3 separate regions of the Homo sapiens genome follow, and regions 2 and 3 are each linked to region 1. Evidence: promoter capture Hi-C in 16 types of primary human blood cells and fetal thymus (Javierre and others, 2016). All regions are on one chromosome and are shown on one strand. The core of a region is centred on a gene start or on the middle of the fragment in contact, and the rest is flanking DNA. Distances in the headings are between cores, read along the strand shown.

Region 1 (5,127 bases), core at 1,673-4,172:
ACATACGCCACACCCTTACTGGCATGGCTAAAGGACCACATCATTTCACCCACAGGAAGTGCTTGGGAACTGACCAATATTTGGATTCAGTAAGATTAGATGCTCAAATAAGCTTAATTCTGAGGGGAAAAATATCTTATAGCTATATTAGGTTGTTAGAGCTGCCATAACAAAATATCACTCACTGGGTGGCTTAAACAATAGAAATTTACTTTCTCACAGTTCTGGAAGCTAGAAATCCAAGATCAAGGTGTTGGCAGGTTTGGTTTATTCTAAAGCCTCTTTGCTTGGCTTGCAAATGGCCACCTTTTTGCTGTGTTTCCTCTGTGTGCGTGTGACCCTTGTGCTTCTCTGTAAATCTAAATTTCCCCTTGTGAGGACGCCAGCTAGATTAGATTAGGGCCCACCCCAATCACCTCATTTAACTTAATCTCCAAATACAGTCACATTCTGAGGTACTAGGGATTAGTGCTTCAACATACGAATTTGGGGGAGACATAATTCAGTCTAAAACAACAACTAACTAGTTTCATGTATTTCTGCCCTAAGCACTAGTTTAGGCTTTGTTCTGTTCATCTTAGAGCCGATAAAATCTCTCTCAGCCATCCTTCCCCCAAGTAACCCATAGTGAGAAGTGATTGGGGGATTACATTCCATGCAGCCCTCCAAACATTATGTGGGACCCCCTTGGGTACTTAATAAAGACATTCACAGTGACCCATCTGTTGTACAATTAGATGTTTGGGAGTCACCAAAGTTGTTCAGCAACAAGTCCTACTGATTGCCTCTGAAACCAGAGAGAGGCTTTCACAATTCTTTTTTTCCTACAGCATACCAGTTAAATTAGAAATATGCCAGGACATATCTGAGGAATCCTTTCGGTCTCTCCTGGAGTAAGGTAGTATCAATGGTGAGGAAACTATTGAACAAAGTGCTCAACGACCCTTTAGTATTTCTGACAAGCAATAATACAAGAGTTAAGACAGGAGAAGCCTGGAGCTAATTCTTGCAGCTTCCAGTGAAATGTTGGGGAGTTTTTTCTTCTTAAATACTGTTGCATATGATGTGTTAAACAAAAAATTTTAAAGAAAATAAGCCAAATTAGTGGCATTCAGGTAGATCTTCTCAGTCCTTCATGCTGCACATCCACCAAAAGTGAGTTTTACAACTAGTCTCATTGTAACACTTACGGTCAGACTGCAAAATGCACGTGATTTTAACAAGCATAAAATGTCGTTTTCATGAGACTGACTAGACTCTCCTCTTAAGAGTACCTGTAATAATCAGACAACTGCATACACCAGTCTCACAGGAGTTTTAATCTTCAAATGGTCATTTTATCTTACATATACAGAGTGTCTTACAGCATACAGCAATTTCCACTTTATCTGCTAGTGTTAGGACCAGCACTAATAAGAATGAAGAGTATGTTGTTTATCAGCCACAAAAATCTGTGTCTATCACCATGGTTTGACTCTTAATACTCTAATGTCACAAACAACTGGCTTGAAGAAGTGTTTTTTGGTAGGTCCTATATCTAACTGTTCAATCCACTGACAAAAAAAGGGAACTCTTCCCCACTCTAACCGGTTTTCCTAAATGTACGAGGGGTTGACATTAGCTGTCTCACATTAACTTTCAAAAGACCATCAGATGAAAACGTTTCATCAAAAGCCACCTACTTAAGTATGAACAATGACCAAAGAATGACAAATCAAAATTCTGGGCACTATACTAAGAGAAAACTCTTCCAGAACACATACTTAAGAATTAATTTTCTCTCTGAATTTGGCCAAGTTTGGTGGTTTCATTCACAACATTTAAGGAAAAAAATGATGGTTTATGGCTAGCAGATAATAAAACAAACCTTTATACCACTTACTAAATAGAAACGGTTTAGGCTCACAAATATGTTAAAGCTTTCTCTTTCCCCGCAATGGTAGCCAAGCAGCATAAACGAATCAACATTTCCTCAGTTCAGACCTCAACTGGTTACAGGCAAGCAAGGGCTCCTCAGAATTTGCTTTACTAACGGTTTAGGTCAGAAATTTTTTTGAAGATCAAATGTCTTGCTATGTCTTTGTGTTCTTTTTCCCATCTCTATTACGTTTGTTGCCCTGTTGGTCTCCTAACACTTCCATTTTCTCCTTTTATGTTCCTGCTATGCTCTCCAAATGGCAGTAACCTGAAGTATAACTGATCACACCTCTTGTGATTTTTTTTTATTCTAGGACTTCCCAGATCTGGACTCCGAAGAAGACGCCCAGGTGCAAGCCCAAAGGTTACCTATTTAAATTTTCCAAGCACAGTGTGTAGAAAATCATTCCTCGCCCTTCATTTTGTGTTGCTTAACGGCGCTGTCGTGCCTAAACGTAGATACTGGCCAAGAGCTAGATTTCCAAAATGGCTTTGCTCCTTTCGAGCTGACATCGGTCTATAACATGCAATTTATTTCCCCTGCAGCCAATCTTTCTCTCTACTCCAAATACTACCCGATACGCAGAAAGCTGAACCTAACCCAGTGTAAACACCGACTCTCATCTGCTAAATTCAGCAAGGCCGGCAAAGCTGTTGCACTGATGTAAAAAGAGCGTTAAATCAAAAAACCAAAAAAACAAAAAAAAAAACAAAAAAACGCCAAAACACCCACACGAAGCCAACTGGAGGGGCGGGCGTCGGCCGGATCGCGCCCTCCCGCCGCAGCCACGCCTCCCCGCCGCGGCCACGCCCCCTCCGCCCCTCTCCGCGCCGCCGCCGGCGGCCTCCGCGCGGGCCTCCCAGCCCTTATTCCACTCACTTTGTTCTCCGCCTTTGTCCTAATCCACACCAGCAGGTGGAGCCGCAGTTAAAGTTTCCGAGTCCATTCCGGGAGCGGGAGCCCATCTTGCTGGCTGCCGAGGCCCTCGCTGGAGGAGGAGGGTCAGAACTCGGGTGCAGCCAATCGAGGGCAACGCTGCTACTTATCAGAGCAGAATGGGCTGTAGTTTAGTGAAATAGGAAAGCTGCAAAACACTGTGGAGTGCTCCCGTGTAAATAAAAAGAGGAAAAAAGTTTCTCAAGTCGCCGCTGCACGACGTCTGGCCGGCGCTGGAGCGGGGGTCTGCGCTCTCCCGAGCGGCCGCGCGCTGGACTTTATTGTGCCGCAACCAGCCCCAGTTCCCATTGTTTGTGTTTTTTTCAAAATATGGCAAAGGTTCAGGTGAACAATGTAGTGGTGCTGGATAACCCTTCTCCTTTCTACAACCCGTTCCAGTTCGAGATCACCTTCGAGTGCATCGAGGACCTGTCTGAAGGTGAGTGCGGCGCCCGTGCGCCCGGGCTGTCAGTTGCGGGCTGCAGACGTTGAAAGTTTCCCGGGCCGGGCCTCGCGCTGGGCGGCTGTGTTCGGCGCCTGGCGGCCGCGGGCTGCTCTGCGGAGGGAAACTTGAAGTTGATGGACGACGGCCGCCGAGGCGCGCGCGGCTTTCCGCCGCAGCCCAGGCGCCTGCCGGGCTCAACTTGCGAGGAACTTGTTTGAGCGGAGGAGCGGAGGTAGCCATGTTGTCAGCTTTGTCTGCGGGCGGGCAGCTCGGAGACCCGCACTCGCTCCCGCTGCGCCGCCTGAGGTCGCGCCGGGCTGGCTCCGCGCCGCCAACAGCCTCCGCGACCCTCCGGGCCCGAGCACGGAGGCTGGGAAGGGAGAGGCTGTGCGTGTGGTCGCGCCGGCGAGTTCGGAGCGGAGCCATCTTACCCCGAGTCGAGAATTGGGCCAGCGACCCCGGCGCACGGCGCCTCCTCTTGCCCCGCCGCCCGCCTGCCCCCGGCGAAAGGCAGGCAGGCACTCTCGAGAGCTCACGGTGGAGTCGCCGCACTCTCCGGGCTGGCCATGCCTGGCCGCTTCGGGGAGGAGAGCGAGGCTGTCCTCGCGCTGATTTCTGGCTTCCTCGACCAACCAGCGGGGGAGGCGGGCGCAGGCTCGGCCCCTCCGCGCCGCGGGCTGGGCGCCGGCGCTCCCCGGGGGCCGTGGGTCCTGTTCGGCCGGTCCTCCTCGGCCGGCGCCCGGGATGCGCCGGGATGCTGGCGCGCAGGCTCCCCAACCAACGTGGACTCCTTTCCCCTAATGACGAAAAGCTAATTTCAGGAAGAGAAATAGAGCTGAGGTAGGAAGTTACATTTAACCTAAAAGCAGAAATAAGATACTTAAATAATTTCCAGGACTTAATCTCTGCCTTATAAATAGTCTGAAGGAAGACTTTCTTCAAGACCGTGTTGAAATCTAAAATAACTCCACATCCAAATACAGAACACACCCTAAACATAAAACACAAACGTAGGCTAGGAAATTAAGGTCAACTCCTCATGTCAGTCCAAGAATTCTTGGTATTTTTTCTACATATATTTTAAGGTCTTAAAAATACGTATTTTTAATATCTTTAGTAATAAATATTTAGAAAGCTAAAACGACAATTATCTTTGCTTTAATTATCTTTTACTAAAGTAATTCAGTGCTTCATTTGCCAGTTTTGAAGGGGAAATAGTTTAACTTCATCGATGAGGGACATACTTTGAACTAGAAGTATATGTAAAAAATGCATTGAAGATGATTTAGGTAATCGTGGCATGTAAAACTTTTCATTTTAAAAACTAGTTTTTAATCTCTAAAATGTATATATCATATGTAAGGTTAATTTTAATTATAAAACAATATATATTCATTGTAATAAACTTTTAGAAAGTTGTACAGGCATATATAAAGTTAACAGTTCTCTGTACTCAGTGCCTTGCCCTATCTCCTTTCGGTAATCACAATTATTACTTTAACATGTGCCCCCGTTTTTTTTTTTTTTTTAAACCTATATAGAGCATAAATGCACATACATATATAGGGCAAATTTTGAAAGATGATTCATTTATTAAAATAATTTCAAATAGGCCATTGATAACACTAAGGGGTATTTTTCTTATTACTCTGAAGTCATTTGATTACTCTCCTATGATACTACTATTAATATAAGCATTGCAGCTACCAGGCCCATTTTTCACACCCAACAGTAATTTTTTTTTTATTGCCAACTGCATATAAAAATAGACAAAAGAAAAACCATTGATCGGTCCATTCCAACTTATACCACACTGTTTTTCAGATAT
Region 2 (5,127 bases), core at 1,921-4,420, 3.6 Mb after region 1:
CACGAAGCAGGGGTGGGGGAGGGGCCCTATTCTAGTTCTCTTCCTCAATTTGAGTCATCTTCCCATCGCCACTAAACCTTACGGCCAGTGATCAGTTCTTCGCAAGACCCAAAGCTCTGAAGCTGAGTCTGAGTGACGAGAGGAGACGGGAAGAAAACGGGGACAGAGAGGGCACTCCCTGTTGGGTGGGGCACCACATTCCCGCCGGGCTCACCCAGCCCCGGCTCGGATCGCCTTCTCTTTGGTCTCTCACACTAGCACCCCAGAGGCCGCAAAAAGCACCTTACCCAGCTCGCCATGGAGCACAGCCCCAGGACGCTCCCCATCTCCACAACGTCACAAGAGCAGCGGATACAGACAAGATGGAGACAGCTTCTTTCTCGCCTTTCCGAGATTATTTACTATCTGCGAGACACTTCCGGACGCACAGCGCAACCCGCCCCTCAGCCTCGCGTCACTTCCTTCCAGGCCTGGGTAGGATAAAACACGGAGCGCGCAGCGCTGAGACTGCGCATGCGCGTCACTAGACGACACGGCTGTCTTCTTTCCTGGAGAATTTCTCAAGGACTGCTGGCTGGAAACTTAACGGCTAATGTGGATCTGACCGTAGTTTGCCAAATTAAGAAAACGGTGTGAGCAAAACCCACCTTTACCTACCATGCACTTGCATTTGGGCATTAGTAGAGAACAGAGCTGAGGTGGTGGTTGACGTTTTGCCCTCCTTCATCTGAGGAACCTCTCTGCTTTTTAGGGGATTGCTTCCTCTTTCTCAGTCTTTGTCCGTCCTAACTCCACTTATTTCCCATTTTTCCCACGTTTGCATCCTGTTTTGCTCTTGCGTTTGCAACGTATTCCTGCAGCCCGCTGCCCGGAACAAGTTTTATTGGGATATTTATATTCATCTGTGTGCTTCAGTTTCTCTGTATCATTTCTGTTTGCTATTGACTTATATTTTAATTTCTTATGCTATTAAGATGTTACAAGAAATTTGCACGTTAAAATTATTTTTAATTAGTTAGATAAGACATTATCAAACTCAAACATTGATTTCGAATGTCATGAGCTGTTGAGGCATGTGGAACCCTTGCATATTAGGTGATGATGCACATCTGCAGGGAATGCATTCCTATAAAAGTTCCAGTTATTTTTTTAGAGTTATTTGTTCTTGAAAATATTCTGGGAAACAGCTCAAACTTGAAATAGTCATTCCCATAACTAATAATAAGAAAGTGTTGTAAAATCTACAAAAATTGCATGGGTCGAGGTGGGGTAAACACCTAAGAATCTGGAAGAATGTCAGAATCCCTACTCCTAGTTATTGTAACCACTAAGGGACAATCTTGCTTTATTCTTCTTTGCCTTATCTGTGGTTTTGTAGACCACTCTTAAAGCAAAGTATTATAATAGAGCATCCATAAGGTTTAAAGAATTGTGGAAATGCTTGTAATCCCAGAACTTTGGGAGGCTGAGGCAGGCGGGTCACAAGGCCAGGAGTTCAAGACCAGCCTGGCCAGCATGGTGAAACCCCATCTCTACTAAAAATACAAAAAATTAGCCGGGCATGGTGGCACGCGCATGTAATCCCAGCTACTCGGGAGGCGAGGCAGGAGAACTGCTTGAACCCGGGAGGCAGAGGTTGCAGTGAGCCGAGATTGGGCCACTGCACTCCAGCCTGGGCTGCAGAGCGAGACTCCGTCTCAAAAAAAAAGAATAGTGGAAATGGAAATTACAAACCTAACAATATTTTTAATTATGCTAAACTTAATACGTTATTTATGGGAGAAGAGAATCCTAGTATCTCAAGTCCTTAAACTTTTCAAAGTACCAGAGAAGGAGACAAAAAACACTTATATGTGAGTAACTTTAAGGTCGTAAAGAATATGTTTATTAGCCAAATGGAGAATGGGTCTCTTAAAATTTAAATTTGCACAGATTCTTGTCTCTTGCTCCATTTAAGAGGGTTTCTGAGATATTCATAAGTTCTTGCACTATTCAATAGAGTTTTTTCACCTGAGATATTCAGAGTTAAATACAAAAGTCATATTAATCTTTCTGGAATGTAACACTTGGCCTTGAAATACATTAAAAAAAATTTACTTTTATTTAACCTGTAGGCTATGTGGAGTGGAATTTGCTCACTTAAGTTATTATATATACAACATTAATTGGACACGACAGTATATATAGACTATTTTATTCGTTAGAAGAGTCTTCGACACCAGTCTCATTTTTCTCTTTGCCAACTATGAAAGAAAATTGAAATGATGACTTTTTCAAATTTCAACCCAAACACAGCTCAAAGCATAGTTTTCTCAATATATACCAGCTATTAGTAGGAGCACCCATTTCTCCAGGTGACTTCCTGTAGCACACGTATAACTTACAATGCCAAAATTCAAATTAGTCTAAGTAAGTACGTTAGTAAAAAACATTCTATCTAGCTGAGCATGGTGGCTCACACCCATTATCTTAGCACTTTAGGTGGCTGAGGCGGGCAGATCACCTGAGGTCAGGAGTTCCAGACCAGCCTGGCCAACATGGCGAAAACCTGTCTCTACTAAAAATACAAAAATTAGCAGGGCATGGTGGCACACCTCTGTAATCCCAGCTACTCAGGAGGCTGAGGCTGGAGAATTGCTTGAACCCAGGAGGCAGAGGTTGCAGTGAGCTGGGATCGTGCCACTGCACTCCGGCCTAGGTGATAAGAGCAAAACTCTGTCTCAAAACAAACAAACAAACAAAAAAGCCATGCTATCTAATAACTCAGTTCTCTGACTTGATTAAGGGCTAGTATGCCAAAAAACAAAAAAATTGGAATATTGATTTTTTTGAGAATGTTACTAAGTAGCCATGCTGGAAGAAGTTTTCAGATAAGCTTGGATGGTACTGCCTGTTACATTCTTCTCTTGTGACTGATGTTGCATATTAGCATGTTCAATTCCTTCACTCCTAATGTTTTCTAAACTTGACCTTAAAAAATCTTTTTTTCTTATGAAATGTATTAATATGCACTGTAAGTGTTCCATGAAATATAGTTTAAGAAATACTGATGGAGGGAAGGATGGACTTCATAGCCTTCTGGCAGCCCTCCTAGAATATCTTTTCTCATAATTAAACTTTTGATCCATATGTGGCATCAGAGAGCTGAAGGTTATGTTTGTTGTCAAGAATCAGAGCATGAATGCTCTGTGTTGTCAATTAAGGACAAGACATAGACTTTAACATTCAAATAAATGGTATGTAAAATTAATAGTCTCTTAGGGAAATTCAGGAGAAAGACCAAAATACTTGTCAGAATAGACATGCACAGAAATGGGCTGGGAGATCTGTGGAGTACTATAGACAGGCTTAAGGTTTTCCTTAGAAGATAGTCCAGGTTCATTCTTACATATAGGTAAATGAATTCTCCCAGATAAACTATAGTTGTGACTATTGTACCCTGAGAAAAATGTAAAGCAGGATTACGAAGCTTATCCTAGCCATAGTAAAAATTTCAATAATGGATTCACAAAAATCAATATTAACCAATGTAATTTCAGAATGATTTAGGTACAAAATTTAGGTTTATGTAAGTCACTCTCAAATATAGATTTGTCAGTTATCAGTCATTTTGGTTTGTTGTTGTTCTTGTTATTGTTTTGAGACGTAGGCTTGCTCTATTGCCCAGGCTGGAGTTCAGTGGCCTGATCTCGGCTCACTGCAACCTCCACCTCCCAAATTCCAGCGATTCTCCTGCAACCGCTGCCTGGAGTGCAGTGGCCTGATCTCAGCTCACTGCAACCTCAGCCTCCTGAGGAGCTGGGATTACAGGCGTGTACCAAAACGCCTGGCCCATTGAATTTTTGAGAGAATACTAAAAATAATAATTTTATTTTCAGAAACCACATCTTCAGCATAAAGGAAAATAAATGTCAATAACCCTTCGCCACCTCTTGTAATTCCTGTTGAAATCCATAAGGTTATGCTGGGTGCAGTGACTCACATCTTATTTCCAACACTCCAGAGACTGAGGCAGGAGGATAGCTTGATCACAGGAGTTAGAGACCAACCTAGGCAACATAGTGAGACTTCATCTCTATAAAAGTAAAAATAGGCCGGGTGTGGTGGCTCACGCCTGTAATCCCAGCACTTTGGGAGCCTAAGGTGGGTGGATCACCTGAGGTCAGGAGTTTGAGAGCAGCCTGGCCAACATGGTGAAACCCTGTCTCTACTAAAAATACAAAAATTAGCTCGGTGTGGTGGCATGCGTCTGTAGTCCCAGCTACTCAAGAGGCCGAGGCAGGAGAATTGCTCGAACCTGGGAGGCAGAGGTTGCAGTGAGCTGAGATCACGCCACTGCACTCCAGCCTGGGTGACAGAGTGAGACTCTGTCTCAAAAAAAACAAGTAAAAATAAATAATCAATCCATAAGGATATGGTTTAGAATCATGTATATCACATTAAAAATTCCCAGTGTAACCTAGAATCAGTGTGTCTCCATCAAGGTTGACTAAAATTAGACTCATCTTTGGTCCCATAATCCTTCCTGCCTTTACACAAATCTCTGTATAAACTTTATTTTTTATCCTAATAAATGATCTATATCTCTGAAATATTGTGAGAGTGGAACAGATTTTAAGGAAAATAATCAGGTCATATTTTTCTGGAAATTAGAAATTATACTGCTTAGTTCTCTTGTCCTTAGTACATCAACACTAAATATAATGAGGACTGAAACATCTTGGCCCCCCCACAGTAGTTAAAGGATGAATAAAATTTGTGCATAGTTTGTTATATAATCCAAGGAGAGCAAAAATATAAAAAGTATTTTATGGCTTTTATCCTAAATTAGTTATATCTTAAATGTAAACATGTTTAAGTATTTCACAGATATTCTGAAAGGATAAGCCAAAAATAGATTAGGACACAGTAACCCATAGGGGTCAGTATAAACTTAGAATTGGAAGAGACCATATTCTGATTAAAGACATGCTTTTATCTGTTAAGACACACATTGATAGTTTTGGAAAATAATTCAAAACTAAGATACAGTGTCAAATGTACAAAAACTCTCTTCAATTATGGTCTTAATGTTAAAACAGCAAATGAACAATATTCTTTCCACACAGATTTTCTTATTTTGCTGAA
Region 3 (5,127 bases), core at 135-2,634, 3.6 Mb after region 1:
ATTATAGTTCCAGGTGACAATTATTTCAGATTCCTTTATAAAATATCAATGTCAAACAACTTAAAAAGGATTTCTTACCAGTTGTAAAAGTTCCTTCTGGAATGAAGAATGCCCCAATAATAATTGCAATTGCTGCAGCAAATTTAAAGAACCAAAATCTAAAACAAAAAGAAATATAATTTTTTATTAATAGACATTCATCAAATAATTTCATATATGAAATCATTTAACTGCATCTTAACAAATAGCTACACTTTATGTGAATGTTCTACTTCTTTCTGAGGATATTATGATCTGGAGTGTAGCCATATTTGTAACTACAAAACAAGGTAATCATCATATTTAGATAACATAGTTTGGAGAGAGAGTGAAATTAACCATTACCATGAACCCAAGCTTATATTATAGATCTTTCCAATTGGAAAAAACAAAGCAAAAAAAATCTGATAAGAAAGGCAAGTCAACATGTGAAAGGAATGGATTAAAGCCCAGACCACGCTAGAGGAAGCATCAGAGCAAATGGCTGGAAAAGAAAGGGAAATGATAAGACATTTTGGGGACTACTGGACACTGGCTCTGAGCTGACATTGATTCCAGGGGACCCAAAACAACATTGTGGTCCCCCAGTTAAAGTAGGCGCTTATGGAGATCATTGGGTCACTCCACCAGGAAAAAAACCACGACCTGCTGAGTTGCTTGCTGAAGGCAAAGGGAATACACAATGGGTAGCAGAAGGCAGTCATCAATACCAGCTATGACCACATGTCCAGCTGCAGAAACGAGGGCTGTAATTGTTGTGAGTACTTCCTCCTTGTTTTGTCAAAAACATGTTCATGCATGCATATACTTGTACTAAGAAAATATCTTCATTTTATTTCCATTCTCCTTTATCATGTGACATAAGATTTACTGACTTCACATCAGCATTTAAGTATTGTTAACTTTATGTAATTAGTATTTTGGTTGGGGACTGGTGCGTTTTCAGTTGTAAGGTTAGTTGTATGACCTTATTATTGTCTTTATTTGCAGATTATGTATGATCTCAGGAGATGTATACGGGTTCAAGTTGACAATGGGTAGACTTCTGATAGTTATACTGAGTGTCAATTGAATTCAAGGATGCAAAGTACTGACTTGTAATGGTTAATACTGAGTGTCAACTTGATTGGATTGAAGGGTGCAAAGTACTGATGCTGGGTGTGTCTGTGAGGGTGTTGCCAAAGAAGATTAACATTTCAGTCAGTGGGCTGGGAAAGGCAGACACACCCTTAATCTGGGTGGGCACCATCTAATCAGCTGCCAGCAGGGCTAGAATATAAAGCAGGCAAAAAAAAAAAGTGAAAAGACTAGACTGGCCTAGCATCCCAGCCTACATCTTTCTCCTGTGCTGGATGCTCCCTGCCCTTGAACATCAGGCTCCAAGTTCTTCAGTTTTGGGACTAGGACTGGCTCTCCTTGCTCCTCAGCTTGCAGATGGCCTATTGTGGGACCTTGAGATCATGTGAGATAATACTTAATAAACTCCCCTTTATATATATCTATCTATCCTATTAGTTCTGTCCCTCTAGAGAACCCTAATACACTTGATTATCAGAAAAAACAACAATTACATAAACTGCTTTTAAGACCATTTTGAGAAAGATGTATTTCTCACTAATTCATTATGGAAAAATGAGAATGTTAGTTCCATTTCACAGGCTTATTTCACATAAGTGGGATAATGTATCAAAGTATAAGGTGAACTGTATAAATGAATAGTTTTTATAAACACATGATAAATGCCTCCATCTAAAACTCTAATAATTTAATAAAATAATCAATGACCAAAGGAACAAAATAAAGGAAAAGCAACCCGTCACATATTTTCTCATTAATATTTATATTCTACTTGTTTATACTTTTTGTCTTTGGTAGCACATATAACTAGATAAGCAACAGCAGATATTAAAACAGTCAAATAAGGGTACCAGAAGTAGTGCTCTATATGAAGGAAGATTGATAAAAGAAACCCTGAAGTTTCTTTCTGGGTTGTCCAATACAACCAACCTAGAAAAATCTGCTCTCTGGGTCTAGGGAACTGAGAGTTCTATGTAAGTGGACTGGTCCACCTAAAGTTAACAGTAGAAGGAGAAATAGCTATTCCCTTAGTAGTCACAAATATAATAGAGCCTCTTTTTTAGTATGAAAATATAAAACACTGTGGATCAGAGGTTATCACAGCTATTATTTAATATCCAAAGTCTGACATTCTCCAGTAAAAACAAGATTTTCTTATCCTGTCATTCATGAATAAAGTAATTCTGCAAATTGTATAAGTTTATTTTACCTTAAAGTTTCCTTGGATAAACTGGCAATTATCAAGAAGAGGCTACCCAAGCTTTTATATTGAAGCTTATTTAAAAACTTACCCATTGTGCACTGCAGCTCTAGGATCACTGCTACTCTTCACTTTGATCATTAGTAAAGAGAGAAGAAGATAGAACATAGCCAAACCAAAGCACAAACGATATACAGCTTTATAGCCAACCAAAATGTTACAAGGGACAACACCTTTCTCATTCTCACAAAATCCAGGAATCTAGAAAAACAAAAGAGTTTATGATCCATCATTTTTTTTCATTAAGTAAAAATAAAAATTACATGTAATCAAATAGTTTAAGTAAAGGTTTAGAAAACTGGCATTTGCTTTACAATTTATGATGAATATGTACTCAAGATGAGTCTGATACATTTTAATCACATACAGTGGGGAAAAAAGAGTTAAATCCCCATCTGCGCAAATCATAAACTACAATACCAACTCTATGCTGGTTGCTTATTTTGAGTTATAGATTTATCCTACATTTTAAAAACTTGCATTCTACTTGAATAGCACGATAGACTTGTTTTAGTAGTGTAAGTGCTATTTCTGAGACTACTGTTCAGAACTATTAATACATCTATTATTCATATATATAAGAATAAATTATTTCCTCCCACTCTTTCCAGTCCCAGCACTCTAAAAAAACTGCTTTTCCAGGATACTAGTCATGTACTGGTTTCCAAACCCAAAGGCTACTGCTTAATCACATTCCTTAATCTCATTTTTATATAGACACTATCCCTGTCATTCTTAAAACTTTCTTCCTAGAACCTATACATTTTCTTTGTTCTTTTCTGTTATCCCTTCCCTCCCAGTTTTCTAGGATCAGAATCAGGTTTTCCTTTCTCCACTAACTCCCTTAAGTAAGAGATTTTGGCAGAGTTCTAGCTCTGCTCACTCTGAATGATCTTCAGCATACGCTGCCATGGTTTCAACATTCAATTTCTATCCTCAAGGCAGTCTCTAGCTCTGATTTCTCTTTTAAATTCCTTCATGTTTTCTACTTACTGCTGTATATTATTATGGACTTCGTGTTTGTGTCTACCCAAAATTAAATGCTGAAACTCTAACCCTCAATGGGAGGATAGTGGGAGATAGGGCCTTTATGTGGTAATTAAATCATGAGGGTAGAGCCCTCAGGATGGGATTAATGCCCTTATAAAAACAGACAGAAGAGAGCTGCTGCTTTCTTTCAAAAATGTAAGATGGCCATGTGTAAACCAGGAATAAGATCCTCATCAGAACTTGACCATGGTGGCACCCTGATCTCGGACTTTCAGCCTCCAAAACTGAGAAATAAATTTTTGTTGTCTTAAGCCACCCAGCCTATGATATTCTTGTTATAGCAGCCTGAACTGAGTAAGACATACATATATATATATATATATACATGTACACGATACAATACCACCAAGTCAACATGTTAGAAACTAAATTTATTATGTGTTCCCAATCTCCTTCCACAACCTGACTCTCTCTAAAAATTTTCCTTTCTAGGTTAATAGCAATACTTTCCTCCCGGTTTTGTAGGACCAGAACCTGGTTGTTATTTATGATTCCATATCACTGCCAATATTTCAGTGCTAGGCTCAGTCAATTTTACATCCAGAAAATCTTATTTCAGGTCCGCTATTCTCTTCTTGATTATACCACTGCAACAGCCTCCATATTTAACTGCTTGACTTTTATACTTTATTAATTGTAAGATTAATCTTCCTAAAGTATAGATACTTTGCTTGAAAAGCTCTTTTATACTCATTATGCTTTCTATTTTTCAATCTCTGTATATGCAAGTTCTAATCATTCTTAGAACATCCTTTTTTCCATGACCCATTGAGATTCTGACACCTGGTTAGAATTATACTTCTTTCTGTGTATTACCACAGTACATTTCCTGTACCACCATCATAGAACTTAACAAACTAATGTATATTATCTTTTTCCTAAAAGATTATGAACTACAACTAGGATTACATACTGTCTTATTCTATATTATTCTGTTTACAATATCCCCGAATCAATTTTATACATATACATATATACCCTATAGCCTCAGTTAATCAATAAATAAGAAACGAGACTAACCTTATTCAGTTGTTCTTCCATTCCTGGTATCAACATTACACAAGCTACACATACTCCAACAAGCAAGAAAAGTGCATAGATCAATCTAGTTACAGTGGAGTTGTTTCCACTAGGACAGCATCGGCATAGCAAACACGGGGCACTTCCACACAAACATGGTATCTGGGAAAAAGAATATTATTGAAAATATTATTAAGAATCAGTAAATCACTATATCTTAAAATGATACAATGAAAATTGACATTCTATCTGTTAAAAAAGAAAAAAGACTAAAAGTAATTACATCAAGGGACATACGGTATTTGGTTCATATAAATTATCTATATACCACAAAACTTAGCAACTTCTAAGAAGGAGTAAAGACAAAAAAAATCCTTGGACTCTATGCCAAGTAAAACGGACAAATCAGCTAAAACAAAAAGGGGAAAAAATCATCAGCAGTAACCAAAGTTTAAAGAGGAAAAGAAATGGAATATTCATGAGTAGCACAGCTGCTAAGCCCACCTCCAGCCCCTGACCTTTAGCCCCCAGATACTAGACTGATGAATACAAAAAATTCCGAGGATTCTCAAATACATCCAGGGAGGGAAAAAAAAGTGAATTGATATATTTTCCTTCTTTTGACCTGGCGATAGTGATAATAATGAAAACTACAACTAGAGTGAGGCAAAAAGGATAAT

The links. The method cuts DNA at HindIII sites, captures the fragments that hold promoters and counts their contacts. A CHiCAGO score of 5 or more calls a contact.
Region 2: a fragment that was not itself captured here is called in contact with the fragment with the promoter of ASF1A in region 1 in 4 of 17 cell types (naive B cells, naive CD8 T cells, total B cells and 1 more); the score reaches 6.9 in naive B cells.
Region 3: a contact is called between a fragment that was not itself captured here and the fragment with the promoter of ASF1A in region 1, in 1 of 17 cell types (total CD8 T cells). The highest score is 5.2, in total CD8 T cells.

The regions. Positions count from the first base shown.
Region 1 is chr6:118,891,230-118,896,356 of GRCh38, forward strand. It overlaps ASF1A (anti-silencing function 1A histone chaperone), which reads left to right and starts at 2,923. Exons shown (of 4, transcript NM_014034.3): 1 at 2,923-3,293. The coding sequence starts at 3,185. All of the region lies in intron 8 of MCM9 (minichromosome maintenance 9 homologous recombination repair factor), which reads right to left. RefSeq lists silencers at 2,658-2,797, 3,588-4,117 and an enhancer at 3,118-3,207. The HindIII fragment of the contact is 9,487 bases long and covers 1,918-5,127 here.
Region 2 is chr6:122,471,412-122,476,538 of GRCh38, forward strand. It overlaps SERINC1 (serine incorporator 1), which reads right to left and starts at 396. Exons shown (of 10, transcript NM_020755.4): 1 at 288-396. The coding sequence starts at 326. It also overlaps a transcript of PKIB not described here. RefSeq lists enhancers at 46-445, 496-555. The HindIII fragment of the contact is 594 bases long and covers 2,874-3,467 here.
Region 3 is chr6:122,454,073-122,459,199 of GRCh38, forward strand. SERINC1 (serine incorporator 1) reads right to left here. Exons shown (of 10, transcript NM_020755.4): 2 at 4,448-4,609; 3 at 2,409-2,578; 4 at 79-158. Among named protein-coding and RNA genes, the nearest start is that of SERINC1, 15 kb to the right of the region's middle. The HindIII fragment of the contact is 1,981 bases long and covers 395-2,375 here.